Regions from separate parts of the Homo sapiens genome. Here regions 2, 3, 4 and 5 are each linked to region 1. Evidence: promoter capture Hi-C in 16 types of primary human blood cells and fetal thymus (Javierre and others, 2016). All regions are on one chromosome and are shown on one strand. Each heading gives the region's core, a stretch centred on a gene start or on the middle of the fragment in contact. The rest is flanking DNA. Distances are from core to core; before and after follow the strand shown. Region 1 holds the start of RBM5 (RNA binding motif protein 5). Region 2 overlaps TRAIP (TRAF interacting protein). Region 3 overlaps RNF123 (ring finger protein 123). Region 4 holds the start of AMIGO3 (adhesion molecule with Ig like domain 3). Region 5 overlaps IP6K1 (inositol hexakisphosphate kinase 1).

The links. The method cuts DNA at HindIII sites, captures the fragments that hold promoters and counts their contacts. A CHiCAGO score of 5 or more calls a contact.
Region 2: a contact is called between a fragment that was not itself captured here and the fragment with the promoter of RBM5 in region 1, in 1 of 17 cell types (endothelial precursors). The highest score is 6.8, in endothelial precursors.
Region 3: a contact is called between a fragment that was not itself captured here and the fragment with the promoter of RBM5 in region 1, in 3 of 17 cell types (endothelial precursors, megakaryocytes and naive B cells). The highest score is 15.5, in endothelial precursors.
Region 4: a contact is called between the fragment with the promoter of AMIGO3 here and the fragment with the promoter of RBM5 in region 1, in 1 of 17 cell types (endothelial precursors). The highest score is 5.3, in endothelial precursors.
Region 5: a contact is called between a fragment that was not itself captured here and the fragment with the promoter of RBM5 in region 1, in 1 of 17 cell types (endothelial precursors). The highest score is 7.4, in endothelial precursors.

What each region holds. Positions count from the first base shown.
Region 1 is chr3:50,086,874-50,091,532 of GRCh38, forward strand. RBM5 (RNA binding motif protein 5) reads left to right here and starts at 2,046. Exons shown (of 25, transcript NM_005778.4): 1 at 2,046-2,156; 2 at 3,509-3,578. The coding sequence starts at 3,562. RefSeq lists enhancers at 1,903-2,494, 2,014-2,183, 2,224-2,333, 2,495-3,085. The HindIII fragment of the contact is 11,751 bases long and covers 1-3,830 here.
Region 2 is chr3:49,829,132-49,833,882 of GRCh38, forward strand. It overlaps TRAIP (TRAF interacting protein), which reads right to left. Exons shown (of 15, transcript NM_005879.3): 11 at 2,785-2,937; 12 at 889-937; 13 at 486-635; 14 at 327-377; 15 at 1-94. Among named protein-coding and RNA genes, the nearest start is that of UBA7, 18 kb to the left of the region's middle. The HindIII fragment of the contact is 6,901 bases long and covers 1-4,751 here.
Region 3 is chr3:49,700,344-49,705,495 of GRCh38, forward strand. RNF123 (ring finger protein 123) reads left to right here. Exons shown (of 39, transcript NM_022064.5): 13 at 1-9; 14 at 129-221; 15 at 293-366; 16 at 1,148-1,265; 17 at 1,468-1,567; 18 at 1,740-1,801; 19 at 1,991-2,062; 20 at 2,290-2,410; 21 at 3,084-3,185; 22 at 4,307-4,413; 23 at 4,641-4,839. Among named protein-coding and RNA genes, the nearest start is that of RNF123, 13 kb to the left of the region's middle. RefSeq lists a silencer at 3,213-3,507. The HindIII fragment of the contact is 173 bases long and covers 1,996-2,168 here.
Region 4 is chr3:49,716,158-49,721,258 of GRCh38, forward strand. It overlaps AMIGO3 (adhesion molecule with Ig like domain 3), which reads right to left and starts at 3,527. Exons shown (of 1, transcript NM_198722.3): 1 at 672-3,527. The coding sequence starts at 3,308. The coding sequence ends at 1,794. It overlaps RNF123 (ring finger protein 123), which reads left to right. Exons shown (of 39, transcript NM_022064.5): 34 at 1-20; 35 at 236-320; 36 at 4,354-4,496; 37 at 4,643-4,737; 38 at 4,863-4,948; 39 at 5,028-5,101. GMPPB (GDP-mannose pyrophosphorylase B) reads right to left here. Exons shown (of 9, transcript NM_021971.4): 9 at 3,759-5,101. RefSeq lists enhancers at 947-1,447, 2,493-3,300, 2,782-2,891, 3,662-3,891 and a silencer at 4,886-5,063. The HindIII fragment of the contact is 8,800 bases long and covers 1,177-5,101 here.
Region 5 is chr3:49,741,855-49,746,525 of GRCh38, forward strand. The region is part of intron 2 of IP6K1 (inositol hexakisphosphate kinase 1); the gene reads right to left. Among named protein-coding and RNA genes, the nearest start is that of GMPPB, 20 kb to the left of the region's middle. The HindIII fragment of the contact is 2,332 bases long and covers 830-3,161 here.

The sequences.
Region 1 (4,659 bases), core at 796-3,295:
GGTATAGGCACAGTTTTCTGTAACTGATGTATAACTTTCTGTAACTAATGGTATAGGCACAGTTTTCAATTTGTATGACCTGAAAAATCAGTTCTGGCTGGGTGCGGTGGCTCATGCCTGTAATCCTAGCACTTTGGGAGGCTGAGGCAGGTGGATCACCTGAGGTCAGGAGTTCGAAACCAGCCTGGTCAACATGGTGAAACCCCATCTCTACTAAAAATACAAAAATTAGCTGGGTGTGGTGGCGGGTGCCTGTAATCCCAGCTGTTTGGGAGGCTGAGGCAGGAGAATCACTTGAACCTGGGAGGCAGAGTTTGCAGTGAGTTGAAACTGTGCCATTGCACTCCAGCCTGGGCAACAGGAGCAAAACTCCATCTCAAACAAACAAACAAACAAAAATGTTTGCAAAGCATCTAGGGCAATAATATAGCATCTAGTAAAGCGATCAACTAATGTTCCTCATTTTAATTTATTTTTTATTTTTATTTTTTTTTGAGATAGAGTCTTGCTGTGTTGCACAAGCTGGAGTGCGGTAGAGCAATCTCGGCTCACTGCAACCTCCGCCTCTTGGGTTCAAGCGATTCTCCTACCTCAGCCTCCCAAGTAGCTGGGATTATAGGTGTGCGCCACCACACCCAGCTAATTTTTGTATTTTTAGTAGAGACGGGGTTTAGCCATGTTGGCCAGGCTGGTCTCGAACTCCTGAGCTCAGCTGATCCACCTGCCTCGGCCTCCCACAGTGCTTGGATTACAGGCATGAGCCATCATGCCTGGCCCCTCCTTTTTATTTATTTATTTATTATTATTATTATTATTATTATTATTATTATTATTATTATTATTTTGAGACTGAGTCTTGCTCTGTCACCCAGGCTGGAGTGCAGTGGCACGATCTCAGCTCACTGCAACCTCTGCCTCCCTGGTTCAAGTGATTCTCCTGCCTCAGCCTCCCTAGTAGCTGGAACTACAGGTGCATGCCACCATGCCCGGCTAATTTTTGTATTTTTAGTAGAGACGCGGTTTCACCATATTGGTCAGGCTGGTCTTGAGCTCCTGACCTCGTGATCCACTTGCCTCGGCCTCCCAAAGTGCTGGGATTACAGGCGTGAGCCACTGCGTCCAGCCTTTTTTTTTTTTTTTTTTGAAACAGAGTCTCACTCTGTTGCCCAGGCTGGAGTGCAGTGGCGCAATCTCGGCTCACTGCAAGCTCCGCCTCCCGGGTTCACACCATTCTCCTGCCTCAGCCGCCCAAGTAGCTGGGACTACAGGCGCCCGCCACCATGCCCAGCTAATTTTTTTGTATTTTTAGTAGAGACGGGATTTCACCGTGTTAGCCAGGATGGTCTCGATCTCCTGACCTTGTGATCCGCCCGCCTTGGCCTCCCAAAGTGCTGGGATTACAGGAGTGAGCCACCGCGCCCAGCACCGGCCTCCTTTTTATTTTTTAGCGACAGTTTCTCGCATTGTCCCCAGGCTGGAGTGCTGTGACGAGATCACAGCTCACTGCAGCCTCGACCTCTTGGGCCCAAGCGAACCTCTCACCTCAGCTCCTGAGTAGCTGGGACAAGAGGTGCACGCCACCATGCTCAGTTAATTTTATTTTTTGTAGAGATAGGATCTCACTGTGTTTCCCAGGCTGGTCTCGAACTCCTGGCCTCAAGCGATCCTCCTGCCTCGGCCTCCCAAAATGCTGGCTTGTGAGTGAGCCACCACTTCACGCACGGTCTCCTTTTGAAGTAGAATTAGACAATGTTTTACACCGTGCCAGTGAAAGCAAACTGTACTCTCTACGGCGCTAGTAGCAAAAGCAAAGAATTATTAACATGCCTAATAGGAGCCCTAAAAACTAATCCAGGTCTGCAAAAGCCGATCGACAACTCTGTAGTGATTTAGAAGAGAATTGCAAGACATTAACACAGAGCGTCCTAAGTGACAGGATGGTCTGGCGACCACATTTCCCGGCAGCCCTCGCACAGCCAGGCCGCTTCGAGGATTGGACTTCTCCGCAGGAGGCGGGTGACAGGGGGAGGGGATAAGCGTGAGGTACTGTGGGTAGGAGACGGCCGTCGGCGGAGGCGCCATTTTGTGTAGCCGCCGAACCTTGTTGGAGGTTCTGGGGCGCAGAACCGCTACTGCTGCTTCGGTCTCTCCTTGGGGTAAGTGCGGCGGCTGTCTGTAACGACGGTAGGTTCTTGCCATTTGGGCTGGCCCCCAAGCCTCCCTTGTCAGCTGCCGGAGGCGACTGATCAGCTCCAGCCGGTTCTGTAGAGGGGCTAAATTACCCCAGGCGTTGGAGGGCCGCGCCCTTCCTTGTTGCCAGCTCTGTCAGTTTCCAGAGGGTGTCCAGCCAGCTCAGCCTTGGGCCTGCTTCTTTCTGGCTGTGACTTTGCCCCTTGTGGATACACGTCCCCTAATCTTCAGCCCAACGGAGCAGTGGAGCCGTCGCCTGTCCCTCGGGCACTCCTTGGGAGCTCCCTGGCAGTCTCTGGCCGCCATCCCCCGCTCAACTGCAACTGAATCGCCCTCTCCGAAAAGCTGTTCGGTGATCGCCCATCTGCGGGTTTGGAACCTCTTGGGAGGCGGGAGGGGCATGTGCGGGGAGGGCAGGCCGGACGCTGGAGTCGGTCGAGCAGGCCGTGACGCCGCCATCTCGGCCGCGAGACCCCACGGAGGTGGGTGCCGGCACCGCCCGGGAGACAAGGGGCGGCACCAGTGAATATGCCCCGGGACTTGTTTCCCCCCAGTGGTTCTTTTTCATTTATTAATTTCAACAAATCGTTGAGCATTCGCTCTAGACTAGGCTTCCAGAGACTACTGGAACTGATTTTTCGGACCTCGCGCTCATCGAACGCGGTCCAGCAGTGTGATGTCTTATTACCAACGGGGGGCGGGGGGCCGGGCTGTTCACTACTCAGTGGTTTGTAGTCATAAGAACTGGCTCAAGACGTGGTGGTTATTGTTACCTAGGAATTAGGTCGTTTCTAGCTTTGCTCTTGTCTTATGCGATACGTTATTAATGTAGTAGATTTCAGTCAGCTCAGTATCCCAGCTTCTACGAGGTTTTACATTTTTCATCAGAAGTGTTTGAATTTCATGTTGCTCCTTGTATTAATGAAGACACTTGGATTAATGTTTTAACGGTCAACTATCCCACGGAGTTGCTTTGATACAAAACCAAGGAGCTGATTGTAGCTCTGCCCTTTTTGCTTTGTAATTCTAAGGTAGGAGCAGGGAAGGAGTCTTCTGCTTGCTCCGTATTATGATTCTGTTAAATCTGGAATCTAATATTTTAAAATATGCTTAATCTTCCGGTTTTGCTCATTGTTAACAAAATGTTAGCACGATTTTAACGTTGACAGTTTGTCCCCACCACTTCCCCACCTTAGATAATCACTGTCAATGATTTGAAGGTTTGATGAAATCCCAGCCTCAGTAGTATCCAAGCTATGGAGCTGCTGACTTAAGTGATCTCTGAGATTTATAGCAATTAATCTCTCTTGTCTCCTAGAAAAAATAAAATTTGAACCTTTTGGAGCTGTGTGCTAAATCTTCAGTGGGACAATGGGTTCAGACAAAAGGTAAGTTACTACAGTACGTGGCTTTGATCTCAACATTTCAGTGGGGACTGAACTCCTTGTTTAAAATAGTTTATCAAACTAATATATGAGTGTTTTGCGCCAGGCATTGCTAACGAACACCTTTATGATCCTGTTGTCACAAACTACAGTCTAGTGAGAGAATTAAAGTACTGTGTGAACATGCTGTGATAAAGTGTAGGGTGCTCTTAGAACACATAGGAAGTATGTCTTTTTCTTGTTCACAGCCAGGAAAGCTTCCTGGAGAAAATATTCTCTGGAAGGAAGCTGAAGGATAAGAAAGAATTTTAGGCAAAGAAGGGCAGGGTAGAGTGGGTCACTGAAGGTTCCCTGTGTGGACAGCAACCTTTGCAGAATCCAGGAGATCATACAGTCTGGCACTTAGCACAGTTCCTGGCTGTGGTAAGCAATCAATGAATGCCATTTCTTGTTATTGTTCCCTGAATAGCAAGATGATCCAGACTTAGAGAGCTGAGAAGCTTGGGACTGTGTGTTACATGAAGAAAGAAAGAGCCAAAGAATTAGTGGAAAATTAAGATGAGAGCATTTGGCTATTGTGTCACCTATGGGTACATGCTCTCAGACCATTTGATTTAAACACACACCCTTATTCAGCCATCTGCCTTTTTAGTATTGAGGTCAGTCCCTGTGGTAGATCACATTGACAGGCTGAGGGACCTTAGGAGATGTTCATGTCACATGGTATTTTAATGCTGTGTCAGCAGTCTGTGGTTCTAAATAGCTTACTAAATTAACATTTACCCCTTTGGGGTGTCTCAGTCCCATATTTCCTTTGATTCTTTTTATTAAATTTGTATATTCTAAATGAAGCCCTTATAAACCTTTCCTTTGCCTTATGATTGCACAGCAGTTTTATGAATCTGGTAAACAGTTTACAAAAGGTGTATTTTATCTGTGGTCAAATAGGTTTAAGCCTCTTGTTATTAGGTTTTCCCATGAAGCCCAGTGCTGCCCTTTAGCCAAAAATAAACCAGATGTTATAAGAAGAGTGTTCTCTTAAGGGGTGCTAGTTTTGGGTAACTATCCAGTTGTATCTGACAGA
Region 2 (4,751 bases), core at 1,797-4,296, 260 kb before region 1:
CCTGGAAGAGAGAAGGCACTGTCTTCACCCTCACCCTCTGCTTAACCTTGGTCTTGGGCTTAACAGGCAATGGGCGGATCATGACTGTGTCAGTCTGGAGGAGCTGTCAAGGAAGAGGCATGGAGAAAGGACTGCAATGCAGGGCGAGAAAGGACTGCAATGCAGGGCAAGAAAGGCTCAGAGCCGGGGGTGGGCGGCGCTGATACACAGAATGAGGCCCAGCACTGCACACCTGAGGCTGTTGGCACTGGCAGGCTGGGGGTATAGGTGAGGCATAGTATGGGCTCCACAGTTCAGCTCAGCTCAACATCACAGGAAAAGGATACAGGCTGGATGAATTTTGTCCGGCCACCGAGCCCATCGAAGCCTGTCCTTACCTAGGGTGGAAGGAAGAGATGAGTGGGCCAGGCTAATGGGCTGGGGGGCTGGCCACCCATTTCTACCCAAGAGGGCTGGCTCCTGCCACTGTGGGAAGCCACACTCACCACATCTTTGCTGCAAGAGGACTCTGACCTGGGCCTCTTGGGCTGTTTCTGGCCTAGGATGGCATTCCGGACAAAAATAGGGAAGGCACCAACCAGTTCCTCATCTGGCTCTCCTGCACAGCTCTGGCCACCCAGTGAGAGCTGGGACTCCTGCAGGGAAGACCCCAGGGCCAGACTTGATGAGCTGGATGTCAGCAAAGGAGGGAGGGTAGTGGTGGTGGAACAAGATCAGGATCTCTGATGCCTCACTAGGAGGCAGGAGGGATAATGAGTAGAATCCCAAGGGTGGCTCCGAAGTACCTCAGTCCTGGACCAGGAGTGACAAGGCTCTGGCAAGACCGTGCCCTCCCAAAAGTCCAGTCCTGCCAAAGGTTAGACTGTGCTTCTTCTAGAAAGCTCTTACCTTCCTGGGGCCTTTGCATATCTTCTTGGGGACATCCTGAATTGGGGAGCTACAAGAATGAGAGAGAAGGCAAGGGGTAGGTAAGCAAGACATGGGGGCAGGTGAACCAGGCTCAGCACACGCCCCTTGGGGAGTTACCATGTGGCACTGCTGCTGCCATGCCTGCATTCTGGGCAAGGCACCTCAGTGATCCCACCCCAAGTGCAGGTCTGTTAACAGCTGGACAGCCACAGCCAGTAGGGTGGCAGAGACAGGGATGACTGGGGATGACTGGACCATGTCCCAATCCTGTGGCTTCCACTCAAGGCCAAATTCCAACGCTCCTCAAGTCCTCGGGCACCTCACCATGTCCCAGGCTCTATATGGGGCTGAAGAGCCCAATCAACTCACCACCCACGGGAGGAAAGCCAGTCATGCCCTGATACGAGCAAAAGAAATTTAATGAGCTCAGGCCTAGTCCTGTCTTCCCAGAGAGGGGACACTACCTCCACGAGAGCCTCAGTAAGTTAGCCTTTCAGTAAAGTAGCCCACAAAATCCTCTCAGAACACAGGGCCAAGCCATCTCCCTAGAGAGTGTGTCTAAGAAGGGCCTGGGGCAGAATAGCGCATGGCCCCAGGCCCTGGTCTCCCAATCCCAGCCCCAGAGCCAGAAACTGTATTTCCATCCAATTCCTGGGGAACCCAGCAGCTGGATACCCTCTCCTGGCATTTTCCCTGGTGGGTGAGAAGATGGTGATCTAAGGCTGGCCCTGTGGCTTCTCAAGCCATAAGGACAAGAGTGGGATCAGGGCCTGATGACTGACTCCTCTGCTCCTGCCCTAACGGCCTGTGGTAAGGCTACATGACAACCAAGGCTCCAGGAAGGACGAGCTGAGTTAGGGACTCAGAACTTCACTACCTCCTTCACTACCTCCACAGGCCATGAAGGTGGTGGAAATGTCTCTGAAAGGCCTGGCAGCCTGAAGACCCCAGGTGTCCACCTTCAACCTTTACAGCGGAAGAAGGGCAATGGGAGGAAGCCAGAGTACACAGCAGACACTGACAGGATCCCTGAGGACTACAGCCCACGGGTCCTAGGTTTGTTTCTCATTGCTACCAGGCCTCGCCCTCTACAACAGGGGTGCCCATGCCCCCTGAGGTTTGGGAGGTAGGACAGCCCAGCTGGCTTGCCCTCTTGCTCCCTTCCACCTCCACTGTCTAGCATCTCAGTTTCTTTCTCTTTCTCTTCTTTCTCTCTGTACAAAGTCTTTGAAAAAGAGGAAACCTGCCCAGCCCTTGACCAGCCTCACCTGAACAGTACCTGTATGAATGAGTATAGTCCTTGTCTCCACAGTGAATTACACTTGGCAAAGCTGGCCAAGGAGACAGCCTCCCTTTTTCTGGTCCCACCGTACCCCAGAGCAGGTTCCACCTGCCCCACTGGAATTCCAGACAGCTTCTCATGCTTGCCCCTGTGGGTCACCCCCTTGGGTGGTAAGGCCTTGGGCTCTGTGGTTTGAGATGATCCTCCCTCAGGCATGAGCCTCAGAGGCAAACATAGAAGAGGAAGTTCAGAGTCCCTCGCTCAGGACTCTGGTGGGCAGGCCTTCAAGGTATTGGGAGCACCCTCTCCAGCCCAGACCCACCCCTTCTGGCATCACTGCATTCTCTCTAACTTGCATTCCAATACGTTTGCCTTGAAAGGTGATGGTGAGGAATAATGAGAAAAGAGAAGGGGTTTGCACAGATTGAGTGCTCAGGTGAGGGAACAAGAGGTAGCTGGAACCAAAGCCATGGCCAAGCCTAGGCAACCCTCACTGCCCCATCAGCCACTCAGAGCTAACAGCACAGGGCCTGCAGAGCTGTCTTAGCTATCCCCCTACCAGCCCATGGACAGTGCCAGCGACTATCACTCACTGTGACTTCTCTAGGCAAAGTTTTTCGTAGTAACCATGCTGGGAGCTGGAGGGCCGGGCTGGGGGAGTATCCACATCAAAGGTAGCATTGAGATCAATATCATCACGGAAGGATGGCCGGCGGAGCTTCAGATTCACCTCCACAGGGGCTGGGCTGAAGGCAGAGATGACCTGGTTACTTGGGGCCACAGTGGTAACCCAGGACAACAGCTCCTGAAGCATCAGAGATAACTCAGCTCCAGGGACCTGGAGCCCACTCCTGACTCAAGGCCACCCCTCAAGAGAGCCCTACTCTCGGCCAGGCACAGTGGCTCACGCCTGTAATCCCAGCACTTTGGGAGGCCAAGGCGGGTGGATCAAGCGGTCAAGAGATCAAGACCACCCGGGCTAACATGGTGAAACCCCATCCTACTAAAAATACAAAAATTAGCTGGGTGTGGTGGCTTGTGTCTGTAGTCCCAGCTACTCGGGAGGCTGAGGCAGGAGAATTGCTTGAACTCGGGAGGCAGAGCTTGCGGTGAGCCGAGATCGCGCCACTGCACTCCAGCCTGGGCGACAGAGCAAGACTCCGTCTCAGGAAAAAAAAAAAAAAAAGTTTAAATTTAATTTAATTTAAAAAGCACACAAAACTCCATGTATAGTGCAATTACATGATTTGGCACCCCCCCACCACTCCCACATGCAGAAAAAGGAGAAGGAAATATTCCACATGTCAACCATAAGTACCTCTATGATAACTCCCTATTTTCCAAATTCTCAATGAGTGTGTTTTTACTTTTATAACACGGGGGGGGGGGGGGGGTGGGGGGTGGGGAGTGAAGTTTTATTCTATTAAAACTACAGCCGACAGGATTCTTCCAGCCCACCCAGACCTGGCAGGGCTCCCCACCTCCTGTCATACAAGGAGAACCCTGGGGAATGGCAAGGGTAGCTCCAAAGATGCCTTCTCTCTTTCCTTCCTCAGGAACTTTTCAGAGCTGCACCACAATCCCACTTCCACTGGGGTGTACACATCAGAGGGAGGAAGCCTACCTGCATTGATTTGGGTGGCTAAGCAATCCAGGCAGCCTGGACTATTTCTTCCTTTCCCTGTCCAGGACCCTAGAAGCTCTACCTCTGTCCCCGCCTGCAAGTTAAAATGAAGACTGCACAAACCCACCTCAAACCAACTCTAGGCTGGCTGCTTTGCTTCCTCCTCTGGGAACCACAGCAGCCAGGACCACTCATGCCAACTTTTTTGCAGTATCCATATTCTGCCACCATTTACCAACCCCAGCAAGTTGAGGCTCAGGTTAGGAAAGGTAAACTCAAGAGGAAGGCAGGATCTCGCTGGGTCCTGTAAATTTTACCCTCCAGGTGGCTCAAGGCAGGACTTTCTACTCCCAGCCATCCCCTAAGGCGTTGCCTAGTGGTGCCCAAGCTCAAGGCAAGCCAGGCTTATTCACTTGCACCTCCTGGTCATCCACAACACTAAACTCAAGACTCAGGAGGTTCTCACGGTGCCTCCCTCACTCCCCATATCCACATCTGGATCATATGGACACATTTCTTCCTCTCTTAGACTGTTTCTTTTTTTTTTTTTTGAGACGGAATCTTGCTCTGTCACCCAGGCTGGAGTGCAGTGGTGCGATCTCGGCTCACTGCAAGCTCCGCCTTCCGGGTTCAAGCCATTCTCCTGCCTCAGCCTCCTGAGTAGCTGGGGCTACAGGCGCCCGCCACCACGCCCAGCTAATTTTTTGTATTTTTAGTAGAGATGGGGTTACACCGTGTTAGCCAGGATGGTCTCGCTCTCCTGACCTCGTGATCTGCCCACCTCGGCCTCCCAAAGTGCTGGTATTACAGGCATGAGCCACCGCGCCCGGCCTTGTCTTAGACTGTTTCTATATTCTTCTTCCTTCATGAGCTTGAAGCCTATTTCCCTTTCTGCCAGGGGTCCACTTTCTTTCCTTCCCACTTTCTGTTTGTCCT
Region 3 (5,152 bases), core at 832-3,331, 390 kb before region 1:
TTCATGGAGGTGAGGCTCCTGACCTCAGGCCTCAGGCCTGGCTGTCAGTCTTCACTGGGGTCGGGAAGATACGGGGAGAATCTTGGAAAAGGCCCCAGTCATGGCTGCCTTGGCATCTCTTCCCCCAGGACTACGAGGTACAAGATTGCCTCAAGCAGTTGATGATGTCTCTGCTTCGGCTGTACCGATTCTCACCCATTGTCCCAGACCTGGGCCTACAGGTGGGAGCCCCTACCCCTGCCCTGAGCCCCCTGGGACTCGCCTGTCCACTCTGAACGCCCCCTCTCCACAGATCCATTACCTGCGGCTCACTATCGCCATCCTGAGGCATGAGAAGTCCCGCAAGTTTCTGCTTAGCAATGTCCTGTATCCTTTCCTTGCTGCCTGGCAGGCCAGACATGGGGTGCCCTCTGGACTCAGCAGAGGCCAGGAAGGGGAGTGTCATCAGGCCAGGGGTCCCCTGGGAGCATCAGGAGGACCAGAGCTGCCCAACGTGGCATTTTCTCTACAGAGCAAGGACGAGAGAGCAAAGGACTGAGCCTGGCCAGCCAGCCTAGCCAGGGGGTTCTGAATGACTGCAGACTCGGGCTACGCAGAGGTGTGGGAGGGGCCACAGGGCCTGCCCTCTTCGGCCACAGCCCAGCACTTTTGTTCATGTTCCACAGTGGGGATTCCTGCAAGATCTTTAAGGAGGCAGCTCTTCCTGCTTCCCAGAATTGTTGGGAACTGCATGAGTGAGTGAGAGCATAGCTTTGAGCCCCTGGCTGGGAAGCCTCAGCTTGTAGCCGTTTTCTTGGTCTGGGGTCTTCCAGCCTCCAGGAGGCAGACACAAAGCTGGGAGACACAGAGGTCAGAGTTGGGGCCTGAGAAAAGGCCACCAGTCCCTCTCTCCAGCTTGTCCCACAGTCATCTGTTCCTGTGACAAGCCCTTATCGTGCACCTGCTGGGTACTGGAGCTGGTGGGCTTAACCACCACAGCTTTTTGTCAGGGAGCATGCCCTGGGGGTCAGACACATAGCAGCAACATGCCCCTGTGGTGGTGGGAGAGCTGTGGTAGGCACATCCAGGGATGGGCTCCTGGGGAAGGACTCTTGAGGGTGTGCAGAGTGCCCTTTGGCAAGCAGAGCCCTGCCTTGACACCCGCCAGCTTCGACGTGCTCCGCTCCGTCGTCTTCTTTTACATCAAGAGCCCCCTGCGTGTGGAGGAGGCCGGCCTGCAGGAGCTCATTCCCACCACCTGGTGGCCCCACTGCTCCAGTAGGGAGGTGAGTGCACCCCAAGTGGGATGGGCAGAGGTCATGGCAAGGCCCCTGGCCTGGGCATCTGGCCACTGGGCATCTAGCATGAGGCCTTTTCACTGGCCCTGGTCCCTGAAGCCCTGGAGATGGAGTGTGGGTGTTCTGAGTGAAGGAGGCCTGGCTAGGTCCCAGGTGACCCTGCTGTATTCCACCTGCTACCCCTGCCTAGGGCAAAGAGAGCACGGAGATGAAGGAGGAGACCGCAGAGGAGCGGCTGCGGCGGCGAGCCTACGAACGGGGCTGTCAGCGGCTCAGGAAGCGCATCGAAGGTCAGCCCGCCTTGGGCACGGGGTAGGGTGGGAGGTGTGTGTGTGCACATGAGGGTGCTTGGAGGTGCCCATGTCTAGGTGGGACTTGGGGAACCCTGGTGGTGGAGCCCTGGCCCAAACCTGCCCCCCATCTCCTGGAGCCTGAGGGCCATGTTCCTCACCTGACCTCCAGTGGTGGAAGAACTACAGGTCCAGATCCTGAAGCTGCTGCTGGACAATAAAGATGACAATGGGGTGAGTGACTCCCAGGAGCCCTGGGTGGGGCCCTGTGGGGAGGGATGCTGCACTGGGCCTTAAGACCCAGAGGGTGGGAACTGGGTTTGGTTCCCATGGCAGGGGCTGGGGGAAGGTGCAGCACTGAGCCAGCCCAGTCTGGGCCTGCATTCTCAGCTCAGCACAGCCTCACTTTTCCCTCTCTCAAAGGGTGAAGCTTCTAGGTATATCTTCCTGACCAAGTTTCGCAAGTTTCTGCAGGAGAACGCCAGTGGCCGGGGGGTAGGTGTCCTCCAGGCCAGCCCACTGTGGATCCCCGGCTGCACTACACATGCCATGCCCTCAGCACCTGGCACTTCTCGGACTGCCTCATCCCTGCCTAGCCCCAAGCTTTTCTCTGCTGCTTTTCCCTCCCTGCTTAACCCTCGACCCTCAGGCAGGGCCTTGGATGAGGAATGGGCAAGGCACTGGACTGGCACCAATGCATGTTTCATGCCTGGTGTCCACAGAACATGCCCATGCTCTGCCCCCCTGAGTACATGGTCTGCTTCTTACACCGGCTGATCTCTGCCCTGCGCTACTATTGGGATGAATACAAGGCTTCCAATCCTCATGCTTCCTTCAGTGAGGGTGAGTGGCACCGGGGTCCCAGGTCAGTGAGGCTGGACAGAGCCAGGCGTAGGGCAGCCCCTAATGTTAGTGCAGAGTGCTGAGCTGAGGCTGTGGGCTGTGGGGAGTTGTCCCCGGCATCCTGCCTGGTTGAGTCCTACCCAGCCACAGGCGGCTTCTCCACTGGGGCAGCAGGAGCCCTGCACCGCAGGCCTGCCGATCCTGTGTTTGCTCTGATTGTCCCACGGGCTCCTACCATTGTGGGCTCTTTTCTTCCGTCCTTGCCCCCCCATTTCTCTGTGCGTCCTTTATAGGGCTGCCTTGGGTGGGTGCTGGGGGGCCCTGTGTTTGAGTCCCCAAGGGTCAGTGGGAGCCTTACCTGCCCTGGATTGGGGGATATCCCACAGGACTGGGGCTGGGCCTCTCTGCTTCTCCTGAGTGAACGGCTGCCATGAGTACCCCCATCACCCCAAGTTATGCAGCTGCTGGCTCTGACCTGAAATGGCAGGGGTGGAGAAGAGGTAGGGGAGGTCTGTTTCTTGGTCCAGGAGACAGTTTCTCTGTCTGCCTGGATGGGTGAGTGGCCAAAGCCAGAATTCCCAGGCTGTGCTAGGCCAGATTGGAGGGGAGGGCTGTGGGGAGGGTCTTCCTACTGGGCCGTGACCACTGGCCTAGCCTCCTCAATTCCTCGCAGAGGCCTACATCCCGCCCCAGGTCTTCTATAATGGCAAGGTGGACTACTTTGACCTGCAGCGCCTGGGGGGCCTCCTCTCGCACCTGCGGAAGACCCTCAAAGGTGTGTACAGGCCTGTGGGCCGGGAGCAGTTCTGGGGCCAGGTGGGGGACTGTCCCTGAGCCTGCTCTGCTGTGGATGCTGAGCCATCCTATGGCCACCAGAGGGTGCCCAAGTCTTTCCACCCACTCAGGCAGGGAGACACTGATCTGCCTGCCCTACATCTGGGCAGCTTCTCTTTCCCGCCAGCACCCACGCCATAGGGGTCGGGCGTGCCTGGCAGGGGACCAGGGATCTTGGTGAGGTGTGGATGGGGCGTGCAGGTGCTGCCGGAGCTGCCTTCAGGGATGAGCACAAGCTGCCCCGGTGCAGGGCTGAGGGCACAGCGAGAGCAAGGCCCTGAGCCGGGCACAAGGGTGGGTCTGTGCTGTCAGAACCTCTCTCTGGCTGCCGCAGTGTATACGCCGGAGTGCAGGGGCTGAGAGACAGGGAGCCCAGGTGTCCCCACACAGGAGATAAGGGCCTGCCCAGGTAGGTAGGGGAGGGCACAGGTGGAGGAGAGGAGTCAGGATGACCCCAGGCTTCCTGCCAGAGGTTGTGTGGATGGGGTGCCATCAGGGAGAGGGGCTGCAGGAGGTGGTGGAGATGAGAAATTCTGTTTGGACACAGCGCGTTTAGCGGGGAGCAAGGCCTGGGCGGGGGGCAGCGAAGGCGGGGTCAGTTGTCAGCACGGTGGTGGGGATGAGCCTGGGATGAGGCTTGGCTCCCACTGGGAGTGCCCAGAATGAAGCAGCCCTGGCATCTCCTTTTGTTTATGGAGTAGTCAGAGAGTGGGGGAGGCCCTGGAGAGCAGGAAGTCCTGGGAAACAAAGCCAGGGACCAGCAGGAAGGGCATGATGGGCTTACATCTATGTAGAATAAAGAAAGTCAATTTGAAAATAAATGAAAAAGAAGGGTGTGATGGGGAAGGCCTCCTGTTACTGAGTGGCAGCTAGACGGGGCCCTTGAGATGCAGAGTGAAGGCTGGGTGGAGGAGGCGGAGGGGCGAGGGGCAGATACGGTGCTAAACCGGGCTCTGCAAGGCCTCCTGCCCAGTGTGCTGGGCTCTCTCACCGTCCTGGGCACTTCCACTGTGGCCCCTTGCGCCACCACTGGCCTGAGAACCCTCCTGCTCTTCCTCCCAGATGACCTTGCTTCCAAAGCCAACATTGTGATCGACCCACTGGAGCTCCAGTCAACCGCCATGGATGACCTAGATGAGGATGAGGAGCCAGCCCCAGCTATGGCCCAGGTGCCGCAGTGGGGGCAGGCGGTGGGATTTGTGTTGGGCTTATCCTGTATCTTATGGGCAGGGGTCTCATCCAGGGCCACTTCCCGCTCCATGCAGGCAAAGGGTTTCTCACTGGGCTGGTGCCTTGCTGTGGGTGGAGGCATGGACCCTCCCTCACAATTCTGCAGCCCCGTGGGCCAAGGGAACCCTGAGCCAGCCCTGGTCCTGGCCGCCTTTCTTCACTGCAGCGCCCCATGCAGGCCCTGGCTGTTGGGGGGCCACTGCCCCTGCCCCGGCCCGGCTGGCTCAGTTCTCCAACTTTGGGCCGAGCCAACCGCTTCCTCAGCACAGCGGCTGTGAGCCTCATGACCCCACGGCGGCCTCTGAGCACCTCGGAGAAAGTGAAGGTCCGCACGCTGAGCGTGGAGCAGAGGACCCGTGAGGACAGTAGGTGCTTGGTGGGGTCAGGCAGGTCCCCGAAGGACCCTTCCACAGTGTACAGTCCCCGATCCGGGCAAAGCCAAAATACACCCCATGCCCTCCCAGCCCTGTGGCCTGGCAGCATCCCAGGAGTGCAGGAAGCACACTCCGAGGGCAGGAGATCAATGCCGCAGAAATAGGTCCTGGCACCGCAGGCCTTGCCCTGCACTCCACCCCTACCCCCATGCCCCCATGGGCTCCCCGCGGGTCCCTCCTTGGGCACAGGAATGGGAGAGATGATTTCCTCTCCTGCTGTGAGGCAGGCTCAGGAGAGCCGGGA
Region 4 (5,101 bases), core at 2,277-4,776, 370 kb before region 1:
GGTCACCCTACGGCTGCCTGGTGAGGACCTAGATGCCCTGCACCCCAACACACTACAGGCCTCGGTTCCTCTGCTAGGAACAGTGAGGCCTGATTCCACATTCTGCCCCCGGACAGCCAGACTTGGTGCTCTGCAGTCTCGGCTCACCCTTCTGTAGAGAGGGCAGTGGGCAGGCCTGGAGCCCTTGAAGCAGGAGCATGTGGGTGGCTCATCTCTTTCCTCCCCTTCCCCTCAGGCCTAGAGAGCGTGGACCACTATCCCATTCTGGTGGCAGTGACGGGCATCCTGGTGCAGCTCCTGGTGCGTGGCCCAGCCTCAGAGTGAGTGTTGGGGACCGTGGGCCCCTGTGGGAGTTGGGTGTGTCTGGTGAGGAGGGGCTGGACAGGGCCTCCTGGTACTTCAGTTTCCTCATCTGGAAAATGGACCTCAGCATCAGGTTTTGAGGCAGAGGGAAGGTGGTGAGGTGTGAACGGCCTAAATAGGGGGCAGACGGAGCTGCTCTAAGTAGGAGAATCTGGGACCCCAGCAGGACAGGTGGCCCTGGCCCACAGAGCCACTGGCTTGTGGCCATGCCTCAGGCCAGGCATGGGAGGCAGGACTCCGGAGGGTGTGCCGTCCTGTGGTGGACAGGGCCAGGCCGCCAGGAGAGCTGAACACACGGAGGACCGCCATTGTCTGCAAAGGCTCTAGCAATAAGCATGTGCTACCTTTATTAAACTCTGGAGCAGCGAGGTCCAGGATGGCCATGGGGGCCCCCAGCTCGGCCCCCACACATGAAGGGCTCCCAGACCCCCCTTCCCTGCCCCCCTGCAGTGGGAGCAGTGAGATGCATATGAAGCCAGGGTACCGCCTCAGCCATTAGGCTGAGACCAGTGCCAGCCCTTAAGAGGCTCCTGCTCTCGAGGGACGTGGAGTTCCGGCTCGGCCCTCCCAGCTCGGCCATGCTCGCCAGGCTTTTCGGGCTTTTTACTGCTGAAAAGCAGGGGTGCAGGCCATGATCCCCTTCACTGTGTCTTGTGAGCCCACAGAATGGGCTCTGCCTTCAGAACAACGGGTGGATGCCCCAGGCCAGAGAGAGCAGGGCCTCTGGCTGGGGCTTAGGCCAGACCACCAGGAACCTCTTGAGGAGCCTTTCCTGCCTGGTGCCTGCCCACCGGACTCTGCGTGAAGTTGTGAAGCTTTCAGGAGGTTGGGTGTTGGTGGATGGAGGGAGTCCCATTTCACCAGAGGGCGGGCTTGTTTCCTCTTTCTGTCCTGGGGTGTGGGCGAGATCTTCCTTCAGAGCCGCCTTCTTTTCCCTGTGGGCCCACTCCCTCCCACCCCCTTGGGAAGGGGAGGTGGCCCTGCGTCAGCTCTTGAGCACCACTCCTCGAGAGCTGTCTCAGCCCCTGAGGGTGGACGGGAGGCTCTGCTACAGGGGTTCTTCCACAGGCTGTAGAAGAACACAGCCACTTCCACAGCTGTGCTGTGTTGAAAGCCACAGGGGCCTGGGTCTCTCAGCCTCACAGGGCATTTGGGCACTAGGAAGTCCGCGGGAAAGCAGGAACTAGCACACCTTGCAGGGCCTGGGGCCTTTGGGTCCTGTGCAGGGGCAGAGCAGAAGGCAGGTTGGGGACCACAACCCCTGTCTCTACCAGTGAGCGAGAAGGCCCATTGTGTTTCGAGGCCCATACAGGAAGCTGGGGGGCCAGGCACAGTGCTTCCCACCAGTATCTGCCAGTTCTCTGGACCGAAGCAGGGAGCAGGGCGAGCAGCAAGAGGGTGGGGGCCTGGGTGGGGGAGCCCTGGGCAGTCTAGGTTGTCATGGGACCCTCGGAGCCTATGGAGCTGGCGGACTCAGAGCCAGCCTTCAGCTGCAGGCCTCCAGGGTTGTAGAGATCGAATTCCTCAGCTACTGCCAGCTGCACGCGGCCATTGAGGCCCCTCCGGCCTGGCTCCAGAAAGACTACGTGCTTGTGGACGCTGGCCTTGCGGCTGGGTGCGTCTGGCGGTGTGGTGCTGAGTACTGAGGACTGTGCGCTCAGCTCTTGGAGCGGGCTGGGTGTTTGGGGCCAGCGGCGGCAGCGGCAGGCACGGCGGCAGCAGCGGCAGGGTGGGGCGAACAGGTAGAGCAGCACGAGCACAAGGCCCACGGCACAGCCCAGCAGTGTGGTGAAGCCTGTGTTGAAAGCCTCGGGCTCTGGGCGCGGAAAGTGCACGCTCACGTTGTACTCGTGCGTCTGGTTGTGGTGCAGGCGGGGCCCAGTGGCCAGGCACACGAAGAGTCCCGCATGCTGCTCCTGTACGTTGCCTATGGCCAAGCTGCCGTCGGCCAGCACCGCGATGCTGCCATCGCGGGATCCTGGCGCCCTGAGAAGCTCCTGCTGCGGCGAAACCCAGGCAATGCGCATGGCCGGGACGCTGGTGTTGCAGTAAAGCCTCAGGGACCGACCCACCAGCGCGTACAGGTGCTCTTCCGGCCGCTCTAGGCCAAGAGCTGGGGCCGACGAGCAGTTCTCAAAGACGCGGCTGTGCTGGAAGAAGCGCACGCGGGACGCGGGTACCTTGAAGGCCAAGCATACGTACTCGCGCGCAAAGTCGCGCACGGCGCTCAGGCCCCGCTGGTGCCAGCGCTGTAGCAGGTGGTAGAGGCGGCAGTCGCAAGGCAAAGGGTTGTTGTGCAAGTAGAGGCCGTTCTTGAGGAAGGCCGGCAGCGCGGCCAGCTCAGGTACGGAGATGTGTCCCAGCCGGTTGGAGGAGAGGTCCAGAGTAAGCAGGTGGGTGGCGCTCAGACCGTGCAGGTGGTCGAAGGAGAACGAGGCGAGTTCGTTGCAGCCCAGGTAGAGATGGCTGAGCGCGCGCAGGCCGTGGAAGGCATGCTCGTCCAAGTGCACCAAGCGGTTATTGAACAGAAGCAGCTTCTCCAGCGCCCCCAGCCCGTCGAGGTCGTGGCGGCCAAGCGCCCGCAACGTGTTAGATGATAGATCGAGCAGCCTCAGGCCGCTGGCGTTGACGAAGACGCCGCGACCCAGCGCATCTAGTTCGTTGTGGTCTAGGTGCAGGGCGCGCAGCTGGAAGAGGGGCGCCAACCAGCCGGGGCGCAGGCGCTGGAGCGCGTTGTGGCTCAGGTCGAGGTCCGCAGTAGCGGCAGGTAACTCGGCTGGCACGTCCTGCAGCCCTAGGCCAGTGCAGCTTAGCAGGTCGGCAGCGCAGATACATTTGTAGGGGCAGTTGTGGAGCGCACGGGGCGGGAAACCCTCGGAGTCCGGGGTGCCTAACCCAACGCGCAGCATGCAGAGCAGTGTCCCCAGCAGCACCAACCAGGTCATGGCGGCGACCACCAGGGACAGTACAGAGCAGCTCTGTGCAGGTTGCAGTTCCAGGACTCACCCTCTTCTGCTCTAGTGCGACATGGGTGGCACCGGATGGCCCTTGCCGAGGAGGCACGGCGGGTTCTTGCCAGCCGACGGCCCCTACTCTCCGGTTCCCAGGTTGTGAGGCGGTGCGGCACTCTTAGCCGCGCTCCCTTCGGCTTCGCTAGCCCTCTCCAAGCGAGTTCCTGATCGGCTCCTAAATACTCCCCCCAGGGGCGGGGCCCGGGCTCCTATTGGTTCCCGTTTGAGGAGGCGGGGCGGCTACATCCCTTTGTGCCCAATGGCCCCGCATGACCGCCAGATGGGGAGCAAGGCCAACCCCAAAGTCCCCGTCAGCCTTTGGCTGGCAGCTCTCCGCCGCTCGTTTTTCCTCGGGGAGTAAAAGGGGGAGTCTGGAAGAATGTCTCCAAGCTGCTGTTAGTGTTTATTTGAAGTGACTTTGAAGGACTGATAATATTATGGGGCAGGCAGACTCTCACTATCTTAAGGTGGTTCGCCTGAGCCTTCTTAAAGTGGTACCCCAGGCCGGGCGCGGTGGCTCACGCCTGTAATCCCAGCACTTTGGGAAGCCAAGGCAGGTGGATCACCTGAGGTCAGGAATTCGAGACCAGCCTGGCCAACCTGGTGAAACCCTGTCTCTACTAAAAATACAACAATTAGCCGGGCGTGGTGGTGGGCGTCTGCAATTCCAGCTACTCGGGAGGCTAAAGCAGGAGAATCACTTGAACCCGGGAGGTGGAGGTTGCAGTGAGCCGAGATCGTGCCATCGCACTCCAGCCTGGGCAACAGAGCGAGACTCGTCTCAAGAAAAAAAAAAAAAAAACAGGCTGTGTGGCACCTTACTAGAATACAGGACTTGGGGTTTGGGAAGCAGGGAGACGGAAAGGATGCAGGGGGGGTGATCATGTACGAGCCATGGCACTCCTCATTGGCAATCCCAAGAGAGACTTTTAGCCAGGCCCCAAGCCTTCTGACTGCCCTTGCACCCTCCCCTACCTAGGAGAGAGCAAGCCACATCAGTGCTCCTGGCAGATCCCTGCTTCCAGCTACGCTCAATATGCTATCTCCTGGGACAGCCAGAGCCCCCAGCACCTGGCACTGCTCTGCCAGCCCCTGACCGGAAGCGCTTCTCCCTGCAGAGCTGTGAGTGGGCTGGTGGGGCAGGTCAGGGAAATCTGGGGCTGGGTCGGGTCAGGAGCCTTAAGAACAGCAAAGTCCTAGGCTGGGAATATTCAAGAGGCATCACATCCTCAGCTACCTCTGACTTGACACTACCTACCACTCCCCAGATGCGGATTATATCAGTGCCGATGAGCTGGCCCAAGTGGAACAGATGCTGGCGCACCTGACCTCTGCATCTGCCCAGGCAGCAGCTGCCTCCCTGGTGAGTGGGAACACGGTGCACAGGTCCATGCCACTTGAATATGTGTGCACTCCTACACAGGCACAACGGACATCCACATAGCCAGGCATCCAACTCCAGCCCACCCTTCACTCTCCTCCCTGCAGCCCACCAGTGAGGAGGACCTCTGCCCCATCTGCTATGCCCACCCCATCTCTGCTGTGTTCCAGCCCTGTGGCCACAAGTCCTGCAAGTAAGTGGGCCCCACAGCTTGGTGGTGGGGAGAGCAGTAGGTACATGCAGGGCAGTCCTCATCCCCTCCCCTGTTGTAGAGCCTGTATCAACCAGCACCTGATGAACAACAAGGACTGCTTCTTCTGCAAAACCACCATCGTGTCTGTAGAGG
Region 5 (4,671 bases), core at 746-3,245, 350 kb before region 1:
GGGACAAGACAATTTAGAACTTCAAGGTGCCTCCCAGGGAAGGGTTGGCAGTCTCTAGCACTGGTTCAGTATTTCCTCACACCTTCCTCCTCTCAAACTGAGTAACAGGTATCTTTAAAGGCCATAATATGAGAGGATTGCTTGAGGTCAGGAGTTTGAGTCTGCAGTGAGCCATGACTGTACCACTGCACTCCAGCCTGGGCGACACAGCAAGACCCTGTCTCAAAATAAAAATAAAAAAATAAAAGCCACAGTAAATTCTTAGGATCTACTTTATTTTCTTTGCTTAGGCTACATTTTCACTAGGAAAGAATAAATATGCTAGCTCAAAAGTACAATTCAATTAAACTAAAATTAATCCCTTCTTTCTAAGTCAAATGAAGCCCAATTTAGTCAAAGAAAATAGAAGCATAGGCTGGGCACGGTGGCTTACGCCTGTAATCCCAGCACTTTGGGAGGCTGAGGGGGGCGGATCACGAGGTCAGGAGATTGAGACCATCCTGGCTAACACGGTGAAACCCTGTCTCTACTAAAAATACAAAAAATTAGCCGGGCGTGGTGGTACACGCCTGTAGTCCCAACTACTCGGGAGGCTGAGGCAGGAGAATGGCGTGAGCCCGGGAGGCAGAGCTTGCAGTGAGCCAAGATCGCGCCACTGCACTCCAGCCTGGGCAACAGAGTGAGACTCCATCTCAAAAAAGAAAAAGAAAAAAAAATAGAAGCATAGTGGAAGATATTATTAGTCAAATTAATCTATTTCAGGGCCAGGCATGGTGGCTCACATCTGTAATCCCAGCACATTGGGAGGCCAAGGCAGGCAGATCACTTAAGCTTAGAAGTTTGAGACCCGCCTGGGCAACATGGTGAGACCCTGTCTCTACAAAATACAAAAAAAAAGAGCCGGTGCACACCTGTGGTCCCAGCTACTCCAGAGGCTGAGGTGGGAGAATCACTTGAGCCCAGGAGGTCAAGGCTGTGGTGAGTTGAGATCGTGCCACTGCATTCCAGTCTGGGCAACAGAGTGAGACCCTGTCTCAAAATAGTATATAAATAAATAAATTGGACTAAAATTTTATATTAAAAAAACACACAGTCCAGCCACGGTGGCTCATACCTGTATCCAGGCACTTTGGGAGGCCAAGGCAAGTGGGTCACTTAAGGTCAGGAGTTCGAGACCAACCTGACCAACATGGTGAAACCCCATCTCTACTAAAAATACAAAAATTAGCCAGGAATGGTGGCAGGCACCTGTAAGTCCCAGCTACTCAGGAGGCTGAGGTCCTTGAACCCAGGAGGTAGAGGTTGCAGTGAGCCAAGTTCATACCACTGCACTCTAGCCTAGGCAATGAAGCAAGACCCTATCTCAAAACAAAAACAAAAACAAAATACACACACACACACACACACACACACACACACACACACACTTACCTTTCAGCTGGGAGCAGTGGCTCACACCTGTGATCCCAGCTACTTGGGAGGCTGAGGTATCATGCCTCATGGAGGAGGATCACTTGAGACCAGGAGTTCAAGACTAGCCCAGGCAACATAGTGAGGTCCGATCTCTTAAATCTCAGCACTATGAGAGGCCAAGGTGGGAGGATTCCTTGAGGCTAGGAGTTCAAAACTAGCCTGGGTAACAGAGCAAGACCCTGTCTCTACAAAAAACTTTAAAAATTACCTAGTTGTAGTGGCGTGCCTATAGTCCCAGCTACTCGGGGGGCTGAGGTGGGAGGATCACTTGAGCCATAGTTTTTTTTTTTTGTTTTTTTTTTTTTTTTGAGACAAGAGTTTCACTCTTGTTGCCCAGGCTGGAATGCAATGGCGTGGTCTCTGCTCACTGCAACCTCTGCCTCCCGGGTTCAAGTGATTCTTCTGCCTCAGCCTCCCAAGTAACTGGGATTATAGGCACCTGCCAGCACACCCAACTAAGTTTTGTATTTTTAGTAGAGACAGGGTTTCACCATGTTGGCGAGGCTGGTCTCGAACTCCTGACCTCAGGTGATCCGCCTGCCTCGGCCTCCCAAAGTGCTAGGATTATAGGCATGAGCCACCATGCCCGGCGGAGCCATGGTTTCGAGGCTGCAGTGAGGTATGATTGCACCACTGCACAATGCGCCACAATTATTACTGTGTTGTAATGTCTAATGGTGTGTGTAATGCCTAATGGTGTGTGCTGAATGGTATTACTGTGTTGTCTGCCTAATGGTGACTTCTATTCCCATCATTCCTTCTATATTTATTAATCAAAATAAATCAGAATTCTGGCCGGGCACGGTGGCTCACTCCTGTAATCCCAGCACTTTGGGAGGCCGAGGCAGGTGGATCACAAGGTCAGGAGATTGAGACCATCCTGGCTAACATGGTGAAACCCTGTCTCTACTAAAAATACAAAAGATTAGCCAGGCTTGGTGGCGGGAGCCTGTAGTCCCAGCTACTCGGGAGGCTGAGGCAGAAGAATGGCGTGAACCCGGGGGGCAGAGCTTGCAGTGAGGCGAGACTGCGCCACTGCACTCCAACCTGGACAACAGAGCGAGACTCCGTCTCAAAAAAAAAAAAAAAAAAAAAAAAAAAGAAATTAGAATTCTATAAGGAAGAGTTGTCCCTTCATATCCATGTATTTATCAGTATAGACTTGTGGATATTTTGTCATTTAAATTCTTCTAGATTGGGCCCTTCAATTCCTTTAAAGTTAGCTCTTCGTACTTCTGACATGATTTTTGACCACTTCTTTACTATCTGTCACCATAAGATGTTCTAGGCTTGTCTTATAATTTTCCTGCCCGAACTCAGGAACCAACCATTTCACCAAGGAGCTCTGTTTCTTTTTATTGTAAGAATGGTATTTAGAAAACTCAGGATTTGGTTACTAGATATACTGATTGCTACTGAAGTATCACTGCTTTTAGGCCCTTTCAGCACATGGAGCTAAGAAATACATGTATGATTACTAGCCCACACACATACACACATCTAATTGCTGCTATCAGCACAGGTGTTTAAGCTCAATTAAGCTAAGAAAAAGTGTCAATAATATTTCATATCTTGGCAGGTTTAAAAACAAATTTTCATTTATTTAGTATGACCAGCTACAATCATCAACTGTTAGTGCTTGCAGTACTAAATGTGAAGTTCAAGGCTTCTGTACATTTATGCAAATAAGCTTTGCCTCATTCATTTATCAAGTATTTACTGACCATCTACTAGATGCCAGGCCCTGAACTCATAAGTGTAAAAGACAAAAAAAAAAGTCCATACCTTCAAGGAGCTTCCATACTAATGTGAAAAACAAACACATAGACAAAAATACAGATTGTGATAAGTGCTATGAAGAAACTAAGTAAGGTTCTATCACTGAAAATATGGTTTCCAGAGCAGAATATAATATAGGATGATCAGGGAAGAAGTGTCTGGGGAGACCTAATAAACTAAAGGTTGGAGGAGCAGGTGTGGATAAGGGTACTGGAAAGAACATTCCAAGCATAAGTAAAATCCCTGAGGTTAATTAAAATAAAAATGAAATTTAAAAAGCTTGAGATGTCCTAAAAACTGGTTCACCTCTTTCTGCCAATTAAGAAACAACCCAGGCCAGTCATGGTGGCTCACACCTATAATCCCAACACTTTGGGAGGCCAAGGCAGGTAGGTCACCTGAGTTGAGTTTGAGACCAGCCTGGCCAATATGGCAAAACCCCGTCTCTACTAAAAATACAAAAATTAGCCAGGCATGGTGGCACATGACTGTAATCCCAGCATTTTGGGAGGCCAAGGCAGGCAAATCACCTAAAGTCAGGAGTTCGAAAGCAGCTTGCCCAACATGGTGAAACCCCATCTCTACTAAAAATACAAAATTTAGTTAGGCGTGGTGGCACATGCCTGTAATCCCAGCTACTTGGGAGGCTGAGGCAGAAGAATCGCTTGAACACGGAGGTGGAGATTGCAGTGAGCCGAGATCGTGCCACTGCACTCCAGCCTGGGCGACAGAGCAAGACTCTGTCTCAAAAAAAAAAAAAAAAAAAGACAGAAACAACCCAATTCAAAATGGTCAAAGGACTTGAATAGACATTTCTTTAAGAAGGTATACCAACAGACAATAACAAAAAAATCCTCTGCATCATTCGTTAGACATTAGGAAAAAGCAAGTCAAAGCCACAGATACCACACACATCCACTAGGATGGCTACAAAAAGAAAAGAAAAGGAGTGTTGGTAAGGATGTGGAGAAATAGGGACCCTTGTACATTGCTGGTAAGAAGGCAAAGTGGTGCAGCCACTGTGGGAAACAGTTTGGCAGTTCCTCCGAAAGGTAAACAAAGAACTTCCACATGATCTGACAATTCCACCCCTAGGCATATACCCAAAAGAATTAAAAGCAGTGACTCATATGGACATTTGTAAGACAATGTTCACAGCAGCATTATTCGCAATAGCCAAAAGGTGGAAACAACCCAGGTGTCCATCAACAGATGAATGAATAAACAAAATGTGGTATACACTTACAATTAAATATTATTCAGCCATAAAAAAGAATGAAGTGGGCCAGGCACGGTGGCTCACGCTTGTAATCCTAGCACTTTGGGAGGCCGAGGCAGGCGGATCACAAGGTCAGGAGATCAAGGCCATCCTGGCCAACATGGTGAAACCCTGTCTCTACTAAAAATACAAAAAATAGC